Linked DNA regions of Homo sapiens: all the other regions are linked to region 3. Evidence: promoter capture Hi-C in human tissues and cell types (Jung and others, 2019). All regions are on one chromosome and are shown on one strand. Each heading gives the region's core, a stretch centred on a gene start or on the middle of the fragment in contact. The rest is flanking DNA. Distances are from core to core; before and after follow the strand shown.

Region 1 (4,670 bases), core at 2,023-4,522, 530 kb after region 3:
GCTCTCCCCTGCCCAGTTACAGCCTCTAATGTCCCATGAACCTGCCTCCCCTCCTCCCTAGGGCCACTGCTCCTGCCCTGGCCCAGGCCTGGCCACCCAGACCCCTCCTTGGCTTCCAGCCTCTCCTGCTGGTCCACAATCTCAGTGTCCCAGAGAAACCTGCCTCAGGCAGAAGCTCACTCCATGGACCAGAACCTTTTCAGCCCATCCCCCTCTGCTCCTTCCCTGTGTACTGCACACCCCAGGACCCATCTCCCTCTTGCAAATGTGCCTGCCTCCTGCCTCCTGGCCTCATCCATGCCCTTCCCTCCACAACAGGGCCCCAGGTCCCCCCCCTCTCTATATATGCAGATCTCATCCTTCCTAGCTCAGTGTCTCCACCAGGAGGGAGGCTTTCCTCCTATCCGGCCCCCCTGAGCTCCCTCTCCTGCCTTACCACCCACTGGCCAGCTCTGCCTGGCACCTGCTTGGCTATGTTCTTGTCTGTCTGCCTCCTTATAGAGGGTGCTCTGGAAGGCAGGGCCAGGCTGGCCTCAGCTCTGGGTCCCACAGGGGGTTCGGGGGAATGAATGAAAGAATGACTGAGGGAGAGGATGGGACCTCTGTCTGTTTCTGTCCCATACTCACCTTCAACCTGTGCTACTACCAGCCTTGGGGCTCTGACTCATCCCAAAGCCCCAGCCCTTCTCCTGCCCACCCCATGGCTGCCCTCACTTCCCAGGGCAGGAGGGCAGGAGGGCGGGGGTGCTGCTCTCCTGGATGCCAGAAGGGCCTCACAGGGACAGCCCATATCCATGGCCCTCAGGGTCAGGCTAAGCACATCCCAGCCCAGCCCATCCTGCCTGGCCTCTTGGGGCCAGGCCTCACAGAGCAGAGGGGTGTGTCCTGGGCGGGGGGAGGTAGGATTCTCTTTTTCCTTTCTGCCAGTGAGTCACTCATAGCGGTGAGAGTGACCTCCCAATGACACCCGCCCACTGTGGCCTGGGCACCGAGCCTGGGGGATGTGGGCAGCACAGATGGAGACAGCAGCCTGGGCAGGATGGCCAGGGAGCCTGGGAGATGGACACACGTACACTCACACCCACAGTCCTCTTGTCACACACACACAGAGACTCATCCTGACACCAACACAGGTTCACATAAACATTCCCATACATTTGGCCGGGCGCAGTGGCTCACACCTGTAATCCCAGCACTTTGGGAGGCCGAGGCAGGTAGATCACTCGAGATCAGGAGTTTGAGACCAGGCTGACCAACATGGTGAAACTCCATCTCTACTAAATACAAAAAAATTGGCCAGGCGTGGTGGCGCATGCCTGTAATCCCAGCTACTTGGGAGGCTGAGGCAGGAGAATCACTTGAACCCAGAAGGGGGAGGTTGCAGTGAGCTGAGATTGCGCCATTGCACTCCAGCCTGGGTAACAAGAGCAAAACTCCATCTCAAAAACACAAAAACAAAAACATTCCCACATACTCTCTAACAGCGACTAGAGACACACACCCAAGACAACACAAAGACGGGTACTTCACAGTGTGCCACGCCATGCCCATGGCATGACCCCAGACACAGGGGCAATATGCGCACAGACACACGCACGCACACCCCATCTCATGACAAATTTGAGCCACATGAGTGGGGTTCCTTAGCTCTGTGAGTGGGAGAGTGAATATAGGAATGTGTAAGAGGGGCTGTTTTGCTGGTGCCATCCTGGGCCTGGCCTAATTACCCTGTCCAGGAGGGTAATTACTGCTGGGACACCTCCCCGAGCCTGGCCCACGGGGCCTAGCAGGAGGATGACTGAGCCCCAGGCCTGGCCCTTTAAAGAGAGATGCTGGGGAGGGGGTGGACTCCAAGCTGAACTGGGGAGGGTGTAGGGGCTTGGGGGAGGATGAGGGGGGCCCTGAGGGCCTCTGAGGCAGGATGTTAGGAGCTTATGGGGAGGCATTGGAAAAGGAGAGGCTGAGAACCCCGAACTAGTCCCTACCTTCAGGCCTGCACCCTACTTTTAGGCCTCAACACCCTCCCTACTCAGACCTTGCCAGTAGCCGGCTCCCATCCCCAGCCCTGACCTTAGCTCCTCCTCCCAGGGAATGCAGGTGTCTACTCTGGCAGGCCCTACTTTAGACATTTTGTAAAGACTTTTCTTGTTTCTTCCAGCAAGTCTGCTTCTTGCGGGAATATTTAGCCCTTCTCTGAGGCTTCCTGTCCCCGGCTCACATTCCTCAAAAACCCTGTGTGCTCCTGCTCAGAACTCAGCACCTTCTGGGAAGCCAGTGTCATCCAGGACCTCTGCATTTCCCCACCCCTTAGGCCCCAACCCTAACGCAAAGCTTCAAAGTCCAGGCCTCCATGCAGCCCTCCAACTCTGGCCCCCAGAGTTCCAGCCTCCCAAGTTCCCTGAGGCCCCTGGTCCCCCAGGCCCTCGGATCTCTGCCCTTTATACCCTCAGCCCCCAGTCTCTAAGGCCAAGACCCCACTAGCTCTCCCACCGGGCCTGGTGCCTGTCCTTCCCCTGCCCCCAGCCGTGCCCCCGGCCCTCACCCACGCGGAAGCCGGAGCCCGTGAGCGTGTCTGTGCTGTGGCCGTTCTCTCCGATGAGCGTCATGTTGGAGCCCTGCTGACAACTGTCCCGACACTGGCCCTTGAGACAGGTCCGCTTGCAGATCACCGGCGCAAAGACCACCTTGAAGCGCTCGCGGGCCAGCGCCCCGCCCCCGCCTGCGCCCCGCTCGCCGGCCGGCCCCCCCTCGACCCTGCCGCCCAGGCCCAGCAGCAGCAGCAGCAGCAGCAGCAGCAGCGCCAGCAGCCCCGCCGCCCCCGCCCCGCGCATCTCAGGGGCCAGGCCGCCAGCAGCCCCTCGGGGCCCGGGCATCCGGGGCCGCAGGACCCGGGGGAGGGGGGGCGCGCCCGGGCGGGGCGAGGGGCCCGCGCCCGAAGGGAGTAGAGGGCCGGGAGCCCCGGGAGAGGGTAGGGGGCAGCGAGGGAGGGCAGCGGGGGAAGCGGGCGGGAGGGGACCGCGGGGGCCCGGCGGGAGGCGCGGAGATGCAGACTGGACAGCGGGGAGCGCAGAAACTTCCCAGCCCCAGGACGAAGCCCAGACCAGGCCCCGAACTCAGGCAGGAGCGAGGAGGCCGGAGCAAGTTGAGGCGGAGAGGAGGAGCGAGGGAGAGGAAGGCCGGGCGGCCGGCCCGCTCCGCGCCTCCCCCTGGCCGGGCTCCTCTCCCGCGGCCGCGGGGAGGCAGGGAGCGCGCGGGGAGGGCTCAGGGAGAAGTGAGCAGTTGTTTTCCCTGGCTGGAGCGCGGCGCGGCGGCGGCGAGGGGGGCTGGGACGCTGGCCCCGGGCCAGGGACACAGTTTTTTTTTTTTTGTTGTTTAAAGCGTCGCCTCTGCCGCCTGGAGAAGCGAGGGTGTGCAGGCTGGCGGAGGCTGGGGGGTGGCGCGGGGACAGTCCCCACCCCAGATGCCCGCCCCCGCCGGAACCCGCGGCCGCGCTGGGCCCTTTCCAGAGGGCCCTCACCTGGGACCGTCTGGCCGGCCGCGGATTCCTCCGGGCGGGGCGGGGCGGGGAGGCCTGCGTAGAGCGAGATACCGAGGCTGAGGGAGAGAGGTGGCCCTGCCGGGTCACACTGACGATGGAGGCCGGGTGGAGCCGGAGCCCAGGCCTTCCAGCTCTTTCCCAGCCTCCCTTGCAAACGTGGGGGTCTCAGGGCCCCAAAGTAACTTCTCGTTAGTGCTGGTCCAATCCCCTCTGAGGAAAGGGCTAAAGGGTGGGGACAGCCTTTGGCCAGGGCTCACGGAGGTCCCAGGAGGAAGTCTGTGGGGTCCAGAAGAGGAGCAGAAAGAACAAAGCTAGAACCCAGCTTCCCTGCCAGCCCCCTCGGAATGGCTTCCTGGTGCCCACCCTGCCACCTCCCCCCTTTCCTTTCGTCTGGCCGTGCTGGCGGGGCTGGCTCTGGGCCTCAGACACTCTGGAATCGCCAAGGTCTGAGCTCAGGGCCTGGCCCCCTTCCCAGGCTAACAGCCGGGAGGACGGGGGCGCTGTCCGAGGGCCCAGGGGCTGGAGAGGGGCACAGCAGAGCCCCAGGGCAGGGGCTGGCAGCGGCTGGGGGTGGGGGTCTTCAGGTTGGCCATGGCTGGAGAGGAGCATAGTTCCAGACCAGGCTTGTCCGCTGGTCTGGAAGGAAAGGCTGCAACGTGCGGGGGCCCAGGCCTTACTGTGGGGCCTGCCAGGAGACCCCAGGGTTCCGTCTCTGACTCACAGAACTCAGCAGGAGGTGGGGACGGCTAGGGCACATCCAGGAAAAGCGCTGCCAAGTCAGGGCGGCACCAGACCCTCTCCCGGACAGCACCCGGGGCAGCAGTCTAATTGGGGAGAGGAGGTTCAGGGACTCACTTTCAGGCACACCTGTCCAAGGAACTCTGTTTTTACTTTGAGCGTAAGTTGATGTGGGTAGCTTTAGGGGGACGCTTAGTAAGTCCCCCTTACTAAGCGGTGCAGGGCTGGGAGGGACAATCACATGTCCCCAGGGATCCCTGCTGCCGGAATCCAGGATGGGGTGTGAGGGGCAAGCCCCTGCTTCTTGGGGCCCTGGTCCACACGGAGGCAGGGAATAATGCTAGGTGCCGACCACCTGCCAGGCACAGGGCTGAGCATTGTATACTCATTTTTT
Region 2 (4,639 bases), core at 2,022-4,521, 870 kb after region 3:
AACAGAAAGAGCACAGCTTGGCAGTCAGAGACTGACCTGGTGGCAAATCCCTGCTCATAAGCTGTGTGGCTTTGGGGCAGGTCACATAACCTCTCTGTGCCCCCATTTCCCCATTAGAACTAACATTTATAAAGCACAAACTGCCAGGAACTGTTCTAACCACTTTACAAATACTGACTCATATCATTGGCACAGTAATATCTTCATTTTCTTTTCTTTCTTTTTTTTCTTTTTTTTTTTTCAGATGGAGTCTCACTCTGTTGCCCAGGCTGGAGTGTAGTGGCACGATCTCAGCTCACTGCAACCTGCGCCTCCCAGGTTCGAGTGATCCTCCTGCCCCAGCCTCCTGAGTAGCTGGGATTATAGGCGTGCACCACCATGCCCGGCTAATTTTTGTATTTGTGGTAGAGACAGGGTTTCACCATGTTTGCCAGGCTGGTCTCCAGCTCCCAACCTCAGGTGATCCACCCGCCTCGGCCTCCCAAAGTGCTGGGATTACAGGCGTGAACCACAGCGCCCAGCCTAGTATCTTCATTTTCAGACGGGAGAACAGTTGTCCGCAGACACAGAGCCAATGAGCCCAGCAGCTGGGCTCTTACCCACTCCTGCACCCGTTTGCACGAAGAGGATAATTACAGCTCCCAGCTCAAGGGGAGGCTGTGAGAATCAGGTGAGAGAATGTGTGCGACAGTCTGGTAAGTGGCAGGTGCCCAGTGCAGAGGGGCTGAGGCAGGAAAGAGTCACTGCTCTGGGTTCAGGCCATTCCATTGCTTTTTTTTTTTTTTTTCTTGAGACAGGGTCTCACTCTTTCACCCAGGTTGGAGTGCAGTGACCTGCGGGCTCAAGCAATCCTCCCACCTCAGCCTCCCAAGTAGCTGGGACTACCGACGTGCACCACCACATTTGGCTAATTTTTTTTTTCTTTTCTGTTTTTTTTTTTTTGAGACACAGTCTTGCTTTGTCACCCAGGTTGGAGTGCAGTAGCCCGATCTCGCCTCACTGCAACCTCCACCTCCTGGATTCAAGCAATTCTCCTGCCTCAGCCTCCCGAGTAGCTGGGACTACAGGCGCCCACAACTGTGCCCGGCTAATTTTTGTATTTTTAGTAGAGACAGGGTTTCACTATGTTGGCCAGGCTGGTCTTGAACTCCTGACCTCTGGTGATCCACCCGCCTTGGCCTCCCACAGTGCTGGGATTATAGGCATGAGGCACCGCGCACGGCCTGGCTAATTTTTTTTAAATTTTTTTGTAGAGACAGGGTCTCACTAGGTTGCCCAGGGTGGTCTCAAATTCCTGAGCTGAAGCAGTCCACCCACCTCAGCCTCCCAAAGTGTTGAGATGACAGGCTTTAGCCACCTGGCATGGCAGGCTGTCCCAATTCTAATCTCAGCTCTCAGCTACTTACTGGCTGTGTGACCATGGGCAAGTTATTTAACCTCCATGTGCCTCAGTTTCCTCATTTTTAATATTGTTACAGGTGAGGATTACAGGATTTCACTGATGTTAAGAAGTACCCTTTAATAGCTCTGAAATCATAGTTTAATTGGCAATTTAAAAAATTTTAGTGGACTAGGCATGGTGGCTCATACCCAGCACTTTGGGAGGCTGAGGTAGAAGGATCACTTGAGCTCAGGAGTTTGAGGTCACACCGGGCAACACAGTGAGACTTCATTTCTACAAAAAAATTAAAAAATTAGTTGGGTGTGGTGGTGCGTGCCTGTGGCCAGGTCGCTTCCCAGCTAGGATCTCAGTAGGATTGCTTGAGCCCAGGAGGCTGAGGCTGCAGTGAGCTGTGATTGCACCACTGCTCTATAGTCTGGGCAACAGAGGGAGACCCTGTCTCAGAAAAAAAAAAAAAAAGAAAAGAAAGAGAAGGAAAGAAAATTAGTGGCATAAAGTTATAGTGGGTTTTTTTTTCAATCGATGAGGTCTTCGATTCCGTGAAATATGGTAAATGATGTAGCAAGCGCCCAGCACAACGTCCCTGTTCCCATTCTATCAGCCAGCTATCTGAGGAGTGGGTTGGGATGGGGCTCAGTGTTCTGGGAGAAGTGGGTTCTAGCTCTGCCGCTGGGCCCTGGGTGTGGGCGCCCAATCGTCCGGGAAGCGCCCACAAGCCCAGGCAAGTCCCGACAGCGGTAGCCCGAGCCCAAGCGCTGCGGGCCCGGCGTCCCAGTGACCCCAGTTCCGGGTCCGAGGCACCGCCGGCGGCATCTCCCACTCCCGGGCCCGGGCCGCTCCAGGCCAGGAAGGGAGGGACGCCCCGGGTGACTCAGCCGCCGTGACTCGGCCGCCGTGACTCGGCGGAACGGACGCCCCTCCTTCCCTCCCCTGTCGACACGTGCTCGCAGCCCCTCGACAGGAAATGGGCACCTGCAGCCTCCCGGGTGCCCCCCGGCGGGCAGCGGGCGCCGTTAGGGGCTGAGAGTGGGGTCGCGAGAGTCGCCCGCAGCCTGACCCCGCGCACGTCCCGGAACCTCGAGGTCTCTATTCGCCGCATTCGGCAAAGGGATCGAGGGCCGGTCTCCGGGGACCTGGCAGGTTCCACTGCCCGGACCCCCCTGGACTCCCCAGGCCGAGAAACGATAGGGACTTGGCGACGGAGGGGCGAAGGACAGACAGACGGACGGACACGCGGAGGGTCGCAGACCGGGCCGGGACTCCCACCCTGGCCCAGCTGCTCTCCCGACGGATCCCGCCTCCCTCCCGTGTGGGGACCCTCACCCCAGCCCAGACTCCAGATCCCAGGAATTCAGCCCGAAGCGGAGAGACCCTCCTAGCCTTCGAGGCGACCACCCTAGGCGCCCACGCCCCTTCTGAAGCAGGGTGGACGCAGAAGTCAGAGGTGGGCAGGAGGAGAGAAAGCGGGCACGGAGACGGAGGGACGGACGCGGACGGCGAGGGAGAAGGGGGCGGCTGGGAGAAGGGGAGTTCGCGGGTCTCTGCTGCCCGCTGCGCGGTGGGGGCAACTGGCCCCGGACGGCGAGGGGCAGGATCCTCGCCCCAGCCCCCAGCCCGGCCCCGACTCCGGTTCCCCGCTCCAGTCCCGGAGCGTGCGGGAGTTGACCCCGGCCTCCCACGCGCGGTCCTCCCGTGGGACCACCGGCGTCGGGCCCCACTCACCTGCTGGGCTGCCTGCGCTGCGGCCGGGGGCTGCGCGGGGCCGCCGTACCCGCCGCCGTTCCCGGAGCTCGGGCCGGGTTCCCCGAAGTCTCGGAACATGCCCGGGGCTGGCGGCTCTGCGGGGTACACGGCTGCTGGGTTCTGACTCACCCGCGCCGTGCGGAGTCTTTTCTTTTTATGAATGAAAAGTTCTCGGGCTGAACCACTGCGACCGCGGGGGGTGGGGGCGTTGCAGCGGCGCGGTCACCTCCAGGCTCCACCCCCGAGACGCGCCGCCTTGGCCCGTCGGTCCCGAACTTGGCGACGCCTCCCCAAGTCCGGCTGCAGCCTTTTCACCGGGATGGGCCCGGCTCGGCGTTCCCCGGAGGCTGCGGGCCCGCCCCCCTGACGTAGCTGCCCATACATGGTGTAACTTCCTCGCCGCGCCCAGGTGGAGCCCCGGGTTCCCCTGCGGACTGACGCACCTGCCAGAGCCCGCGCCCCGCCCCAGCCCTCTCGAGGCCTGGGCTAACCTCCGTTTCTGCTCCCACAAAATAGCACGAAAGAATCACATCTCTAGGAGCCACGCCAACCGCCACCCAAAGCTTCGTGGAGTGAGGTCTTTCCACTGGCCTTGTTTTAAGGCTTCGAGTATATGAAAAGTGAATAAATGACAAACCAGGGTTACAAAAATGGTGGCATATTTTATTTTACTTTATATTTTTGAGACCGGGTCTCTGTCACCCAGGCTGGAGTGCAGTGGCTCGATCTCGGCGCACTGCAGGCTCAACTTCCTGAGCTAAAGGGATTCTCCTGCCTCAGCGCCCCCTCCAAGTAAGTGGGACTACAGGCGCGCGTCACCACACCCAGGTAATTTTTGTGTTTTTTGTAGGGATTGGGTCTCGCCGTATTGCCCAGGCTGGGTGGTATATTTTAAATGTTTGCGATAAGGTAATGCTTTGAACTAACCCCACATAAAATGCAATATAATAGTATTACTCAGGATAATTTCAGGAGCTATAACGAGTTTTAATTCAGGGCCACTACAGGTGTCCTGAGGTCTGATAAACGCCATCTTCATTACGGTCAGTGCCTTTCGGAGGCTTGTGGCCACCAGACTTGTTTGGAGAGTATGTCAAAGGTGAGTGAATGTGAGGCAGGTATCATCCTCATCTCTGTTTTACAGATGGGGAAACTGAGGCTGGGAGATGCTGAAATGAATTGCTTGAAGTCGCTAAGTGAGTAGCTGGCACAGGTTGCCAAGTCACAGCCGTGGGCACTCCAAGCCCAGGCTCAGCCAAGATTTTCAAAGCCCTTACACCTTCACAGACACCTTGTCGCACATCCAGAATGTTAGTGCTGGGCACCATCCCAAAGCTTCTCTCTGATTACTTCCATCATAGATGAGGAAACTGAGGCCCAGATGGAGTACTGAGCTGTCAGTTGTCACACGACTACAGAAAGAGGGCTGGGGCCAGGTGTGGTGGCTCATGCTTGTAATCCTAGCACTTTGGAAGGCCAAGGCAGAAAGAACCA
Region 3 (4,954 bases), core at 176-2,675:
TCCTGACTTCCTAATCCACCCACCTCTGCCTCCCAAACTGCTGGGATTACAGGCGTGAGCCACCACGCCCGGCCCCCATCTCTCCTCTTTAGGGTGGCTCATTGGGATCCATTTTGTTAACACCAACAATTAGTTTCACACCCAGCGTGTAAGACAGAAGGGTGTGCTCACGCGTCTGCCCATTCTTGGAATTACCAGCTTCAAATTCATCAACACCAGCAGCAACAATCAGGACAGCACAATTAGCCTGAGGTCAGGTTTTTGATAAAGTCTCTGCATCCTGGGCCATTGAGGATGGTCACATAGTACTTGCTGGTCTCAATTGCCAGCAGGGAGGTATCAGTGGTGATACCACTCTCACGTTCAACTTTCAGCTTACCCAAGACCCAGGTATGCTTGAAGGAGCCCTTTCCCATCTCAGCAGCTTCCTCAAAATTGTCGATGGTTCTTTTGTGGATCCCACCACACTTGTAGATCAGATGGCCAGTAGTGCTGGACTTGCCCAAATCAGATGATGATGTTGAGCTGAGTCTTTTCCCTCCCCTGCTCCCTTTCTTTTGAGATGGAGTCTCACTCTGTTGCCCAGGCTGGAGTGCAGTGGTGTGATTGCAGCTCACTGCAGCCTCAACCTCCTGGGCTGAAGCCATCAGCCAGCTCAGCCCCTGGAGTAGCTGGAATTACAGGCGTGCGCCACCACGCCCAGCTAATTTTTGTATTTTTAGTAGAAACGGGGTTTCACCATGTTGGCCAGGCTGGTCTTGAACTCCTGACCTCAAGTGATCCACCTGCCTCCACTGCCCAAAATGCTGGGATTACAGGCGTGAACCACCGCGCCAAACCCCCATTTTGGCTTTGATTTAACGGTGGTTTTCACGACACCTGTGTTCTGGCAGCAAACCCATCGCAAAAAAGCTCCACTGCCCTACACAGATTCTATTATAAACATCTCCATTCTACAGATGAGAAACTGAGGCTGAGTAGTTAAGGGAAACTCCTACAGCTAGTAAGAGTCGTGACTCAGAGCCCATGACACCATCCTGCTTCTCCAACCTTCTTTGCTTCCTCTACTTTCCAGAAAACATGAATTAGGGAATCCTGTGGAGGGAGACAGGGAAATAATTTGACGTTGTCCTGTACATACTGGACACAATAAGAGTTGGGTGGATGAACGAAAGCAGGGATTTAGGAAGCGGGGAGAAGTCGTTTGGAAGTCTGTGACAAGGGTTTACGCTTGGATAGGGTGGGCTTGATCACCCGGCAGAAATGAGACGAGTGATCCCAGCCTTCCCAACCAATCTTTCCAGTGACCTGGGTTTACGCTTCACCACAGAGAAGGAACTTTTCAGACGCTCCCTTGGCCGCGCACCCGGGATCGGAACAGCGCTGTCACTTGCGACAAAATCCCTAGGCCAGAGGAAGAAGAGCGCAGGCCTGGCGAGGCGGCGGCGGGCGGAGGCTGGGCCGGAGGGGTGGGGACGGCGAGGAGGTGGAGGCCGGCGCTCCGCTCCGCTCCAGCTCGGTTTCATGTCCCGCCAGGCGAAGGATGACTTCCTGCGGCACTACACAGTGTCGGACCCCAGGACTCACCCCAAGGGCTACACCGAGTACAAAGTAACCGCGCAGGTGAGGTGGGGCCCAGCGCGTACTTTACCCTTTTAACTAGAGGGGCGCCGAGTTTTACCTTAAGGAAAGGCGGTGCAGCCACTGCTCCCTTTTTAGACGACAGAAATGGGTTTCCCCTTTAAGGGGAGGTTGCAGTACGAGGCTTAGTTTACATCTTTAACCACCAGGGGGCGGGGTCCTGGGTGGGCGCTGTCTTTTTTAAAAGGGCGTTGACGGCCGTTCCCGGACAGGCAAGGCGTGTATGCCCACGCCCGGAGTGTAGTGTCTGGGCATCAGGCTGTGAATTTCTCTAAATTAACATGAAAACTCTGGTTTAATCCAAATATTAGTACTCCATTCTCGTAGAGTAAGTTTTGTTTATTGGTTTGTTTGATGTTACATAAACTCCCTTTAACGAGTTTAACCATTTTTAATTTTTCAAAAAATAATACTGATCAGTGGTTGAAAAAAATTGATGCAGTTCAGAAGGACTTAAGGAGTAAGTCGCCATATCAAGGTCACAGCAGGAAGATAGATAGGCTAGAGTTGATATATGAAGCGATAACAACATCATAAGCACAATTTATAGAGAGACATGGAGGAAACCATGACAATAATTAAAAATGAAACAGTAAAACAGGACACCTGTAGAATGATAACAAGAACTGGTAACAAGGAAGGTCCCCAGGGAGAGGAACTGTGTCACTGGGGACAGGAGTTAGGGGAAGACTTTTTACTGTAAATTTTTTGTACTTTTAGAATTTTCAACCAGGCGACTATTAAGCTGGTGCATTAGTTAACTCTAAAAGCAAAGCAGGCACATAAGGACACTTCCAAAGTGATCTAAGTGCAGAATCTTAGCTATTTAAAATATGCTTTCCCCAAACCGTTTACGTCTTTTCCATGCCTAAAAATAATGCAAATAAGGCCGGGCTCAGTGGCTCATGCCTGTAAATCCCAGCACTTTGGGAGGCTGAGGCAGCAGATTGCTTGAGCTCAGGAGCTCAAGACGAGCCTGGGCAACATAGTGAGACCCCGGATCAATATTAAAATACAGACACACACACAACTTTAAAAAAAAAAAAAAAAAAAGCAAATAAATAGATTGTCCCTGGGAAGATAGACTGGAGGTGGGGCTGGGGTGGGGAGGATGTGGCAAGGAACTGTAACCTTTTATTATAAGTCTTCCCAGTGGTGGCCGGGCGCGGTGGCTCACGCCTGTAATCCCAGCACTTTGGGAGGCCGAGGCGGGCGGATCACGAGGTCAGGAGATCGAGACCATCCTGGCTACCATGGTGAAACCCCATCTCTACTAAAAATACAAAAACTTACGGGCGTGGCAGCGTGCACCTGTAGTCCCAGGTACTCGGGAGGCTGAGGTAGAAGAATGGAGTGAACCCGGGAGGTGGAGCTTGCAGTGAGCCGAGATTGTGCCACTGCACTCCAGCCTGGGAGACAGAGCGAGACTCCGTCTCAAAAATATAAATAAATAAATAAATAAATAAATAAATAAAAATAAGTCTTCCCAGTGGCTTTTTTGTGTCGTTGTTTTGTTTTGTTTTTGAGACAGAGTCTCACTGTCGCCCAGACTGGAGTGAAGTGACTCGATCTCAGCTCACTGCAAACTTCCGTCGCCCGGGTTCAGATTCTCCCACCTCAACCTCCCAGGTAGCTGGGACTACAGGCACGCGTCACCATGCCCAGCTAATATTCGTATTTTTTGGCAGAGATGGGGTTTCACCATGTTGGCCAGAATGGTCTCGATCTCTTGACCTCATGATCCACCCGCCTTGGCCTCCCAAAGTGCTGGGATTACAGGTGTGAGCCACCACACCCGGCCTCCCATTGGCTTTTTAAACCAAGCAACATGCATTACTTTGATATATTTTTATACATATTATATAATACAATGTATTATATATAATAAATATAAAATATAAAGCACATAATATATAAATATATGTATGTATATATTTTTTGAGACGGAGTCTTGCTCTGTCGCCCAGGCTGGAGTACAGTGGTGTGATCTCAGCTCACTGTAGCCTCCACCTCCTGGGTTCATGCAGTTCTCCTGCTTCAGCCTCCTGAGTAGCTGGGATTATAGGCGTGTGCCACCACACCCGGCTACTTTTTGTGTTTTTAGTAGAGACGGGATTTCACTGTGTTGGCCAGGCTGGTCTCGAACTCCTGACCTCAAGTTATCCTCCCACCTCGGCCTTCCCAAGTGCTGGAATTACAGGTGTGAACCACCGCGCCTGGCCTATATTTTTATTTTATTTTATTTTATTTGCGACGGGGTCTTGCTCTGTCACCCACGCTGGTGTGCAGTGGCATGATTCACGTCTTACTGCAGCCTCAAGTTCCTGCATTCAATCCATCCTCTTGCCTCAGCCTCCTGAGTAGCTGGGACTACAAGCATGTACCACTACGCCTAGCTCAATTTTTAAATTTTTTGTAGAGGCTGGGCGTGGTGGCGCACGCCTGTAATCCCAGCACTTTGGGAGGCCAAGGCGGGTGGATCATGAGGTCAAGAGATCGAGACCATTCTGGCCAACATGGTGAAACCCCGTCTCTACTAAAAGTACAAAACGTAGCTGGGCATGGTGGCGCTCACCTGTAGTCCCAGCTACTCGGGAGGCTGAGGCAGGAGAATTGCTTGAACCCGGGAGGCAGAGGTTGCAGTGAGCCGAGATCACACCACTGCACTCCAGCCTGGTGACAGAGTGAGACTCCATCTCAAAAAAAAATTTTTTTTTTTGTAGAGACAGAGTTTTGCCATGTTGCCCAGGCTGGTCTCAAACTCCTGGCCTCAAGCAATCCTCCCATTTTGGCCTTCCAAAGTGTTAGGATTACAGGCCACCATGACCCACCGTACCTGGCCTATAATTTTTTTTTTTTTTTTGAGATGGAGTCTCACTGTGTTGCCAGGCTGGAGTGCAGTGGCATGATCTCAGCTCACTGCAACCTCTGCCTCCTGGGTTCAAGTGATTCTCCTGCCTCAGCCTCCTGAGTAGCTGGGACTACAGGCACTTGCCACCACGCCTGGCTAATTTTTGTATTTTTAGTAGAGACAGGATTTCACCATGTTGGTTGGCCAGGCTGGTCTCGAACTCCTGACCTCAAGTGATTCTCCCACCTCGGCCTCCCAAAGTGCTGGGATTACAGGCATGAGACACCACACCTGGCCACTCAATGGCTTTTAAATAGTTTCTTTTACCAGAATATTTTAGGCAAGTCTCTGTTGTCAAAAGCAAAGTCCAGGGTTTTAGTCCCAGCCATCTTTCTTACTTAGTGTGTGGTCTACTATGGCCACACCTCTCAGAGCCTCCATTTCCTCATCTCTTAAGTGGGC

Evidence for each region. The method cuts DNA at HindIII sites, captures the fragments that hold promoters and counts their contacts. A contact is called where the count stands out against the background at its distance.
Region 1: the fragment with the promoter of LTBP3 here is called in contact with the fragment with the promoter of SNX15 in region 3 in 1 of the 25 tissues and cell types used here (aorta).
Region 2: the fragment with the promoter of FOSL1 here is called in contact with the fragment with the promoter of SNX15 in region 3 in 1 of the 25 tissues and cell types used here (dorsolateral prefrontal cortex).

The regions. Positions count from the first base shown.
Region 1 is chr11:65,555,087-65,559,756 of GRCh38, forward strand. LTBP3 (latent transforming growth factor beta binding protein 3) reads right to left here and starts at 3,273. Exons shown (of 28, transcript NM_001130144.3): 1 at 2,543-3,273. The coding sequence starts at 2,873. RefSeq lists silencers at 3,102-3,341, 3,392-3,551. The HindIII fragment of the contact is 15,125 bases long and covers 1-4,670 here.
Region 2 is chr11:65,897,117-65,901,755 of GRCh38, forward strand. It overlaps FOSL1 (FOS like 1, AP-1 transcription factor subunit), which reads right to left and starts at 3,272. Exons shown (of 4, transcript NM_005438.5): 1 at 3,125-3,272. The coding sequence starts at 3,223. RefSeq lists silencers at 2,143-2,370, 2,336-2,455, 3,064-3,663. The HindIII fragment of the contact is 4,995 bases long and covers 1-4,094 here.
Region 3 is chr11:65,026,014-65,030,967 of GRCh38, forward strand. SNX15 (sorting nexin 15) reads left to right here and starts at 1,426. Exons shown (of 8, transcript NM_013306.5): 1 at 1,426-1,623. The coding sequence starts at 1,525. ARL2-SNX15 (ARL2-SNX15 readthrough (NMD candidate)) reads left to right here. Exons shown (of 11, transcript NR_037650.2): 4 at 1,305-1,623. It also overlaps the pseudogene EEF1A1P18. RefSeq lists an enhancer at 1,244-1,538 and a silencer at 1,388-1,557. The HindIII fragment of the contact is 29,710 bases long and covers 1-4,954 here.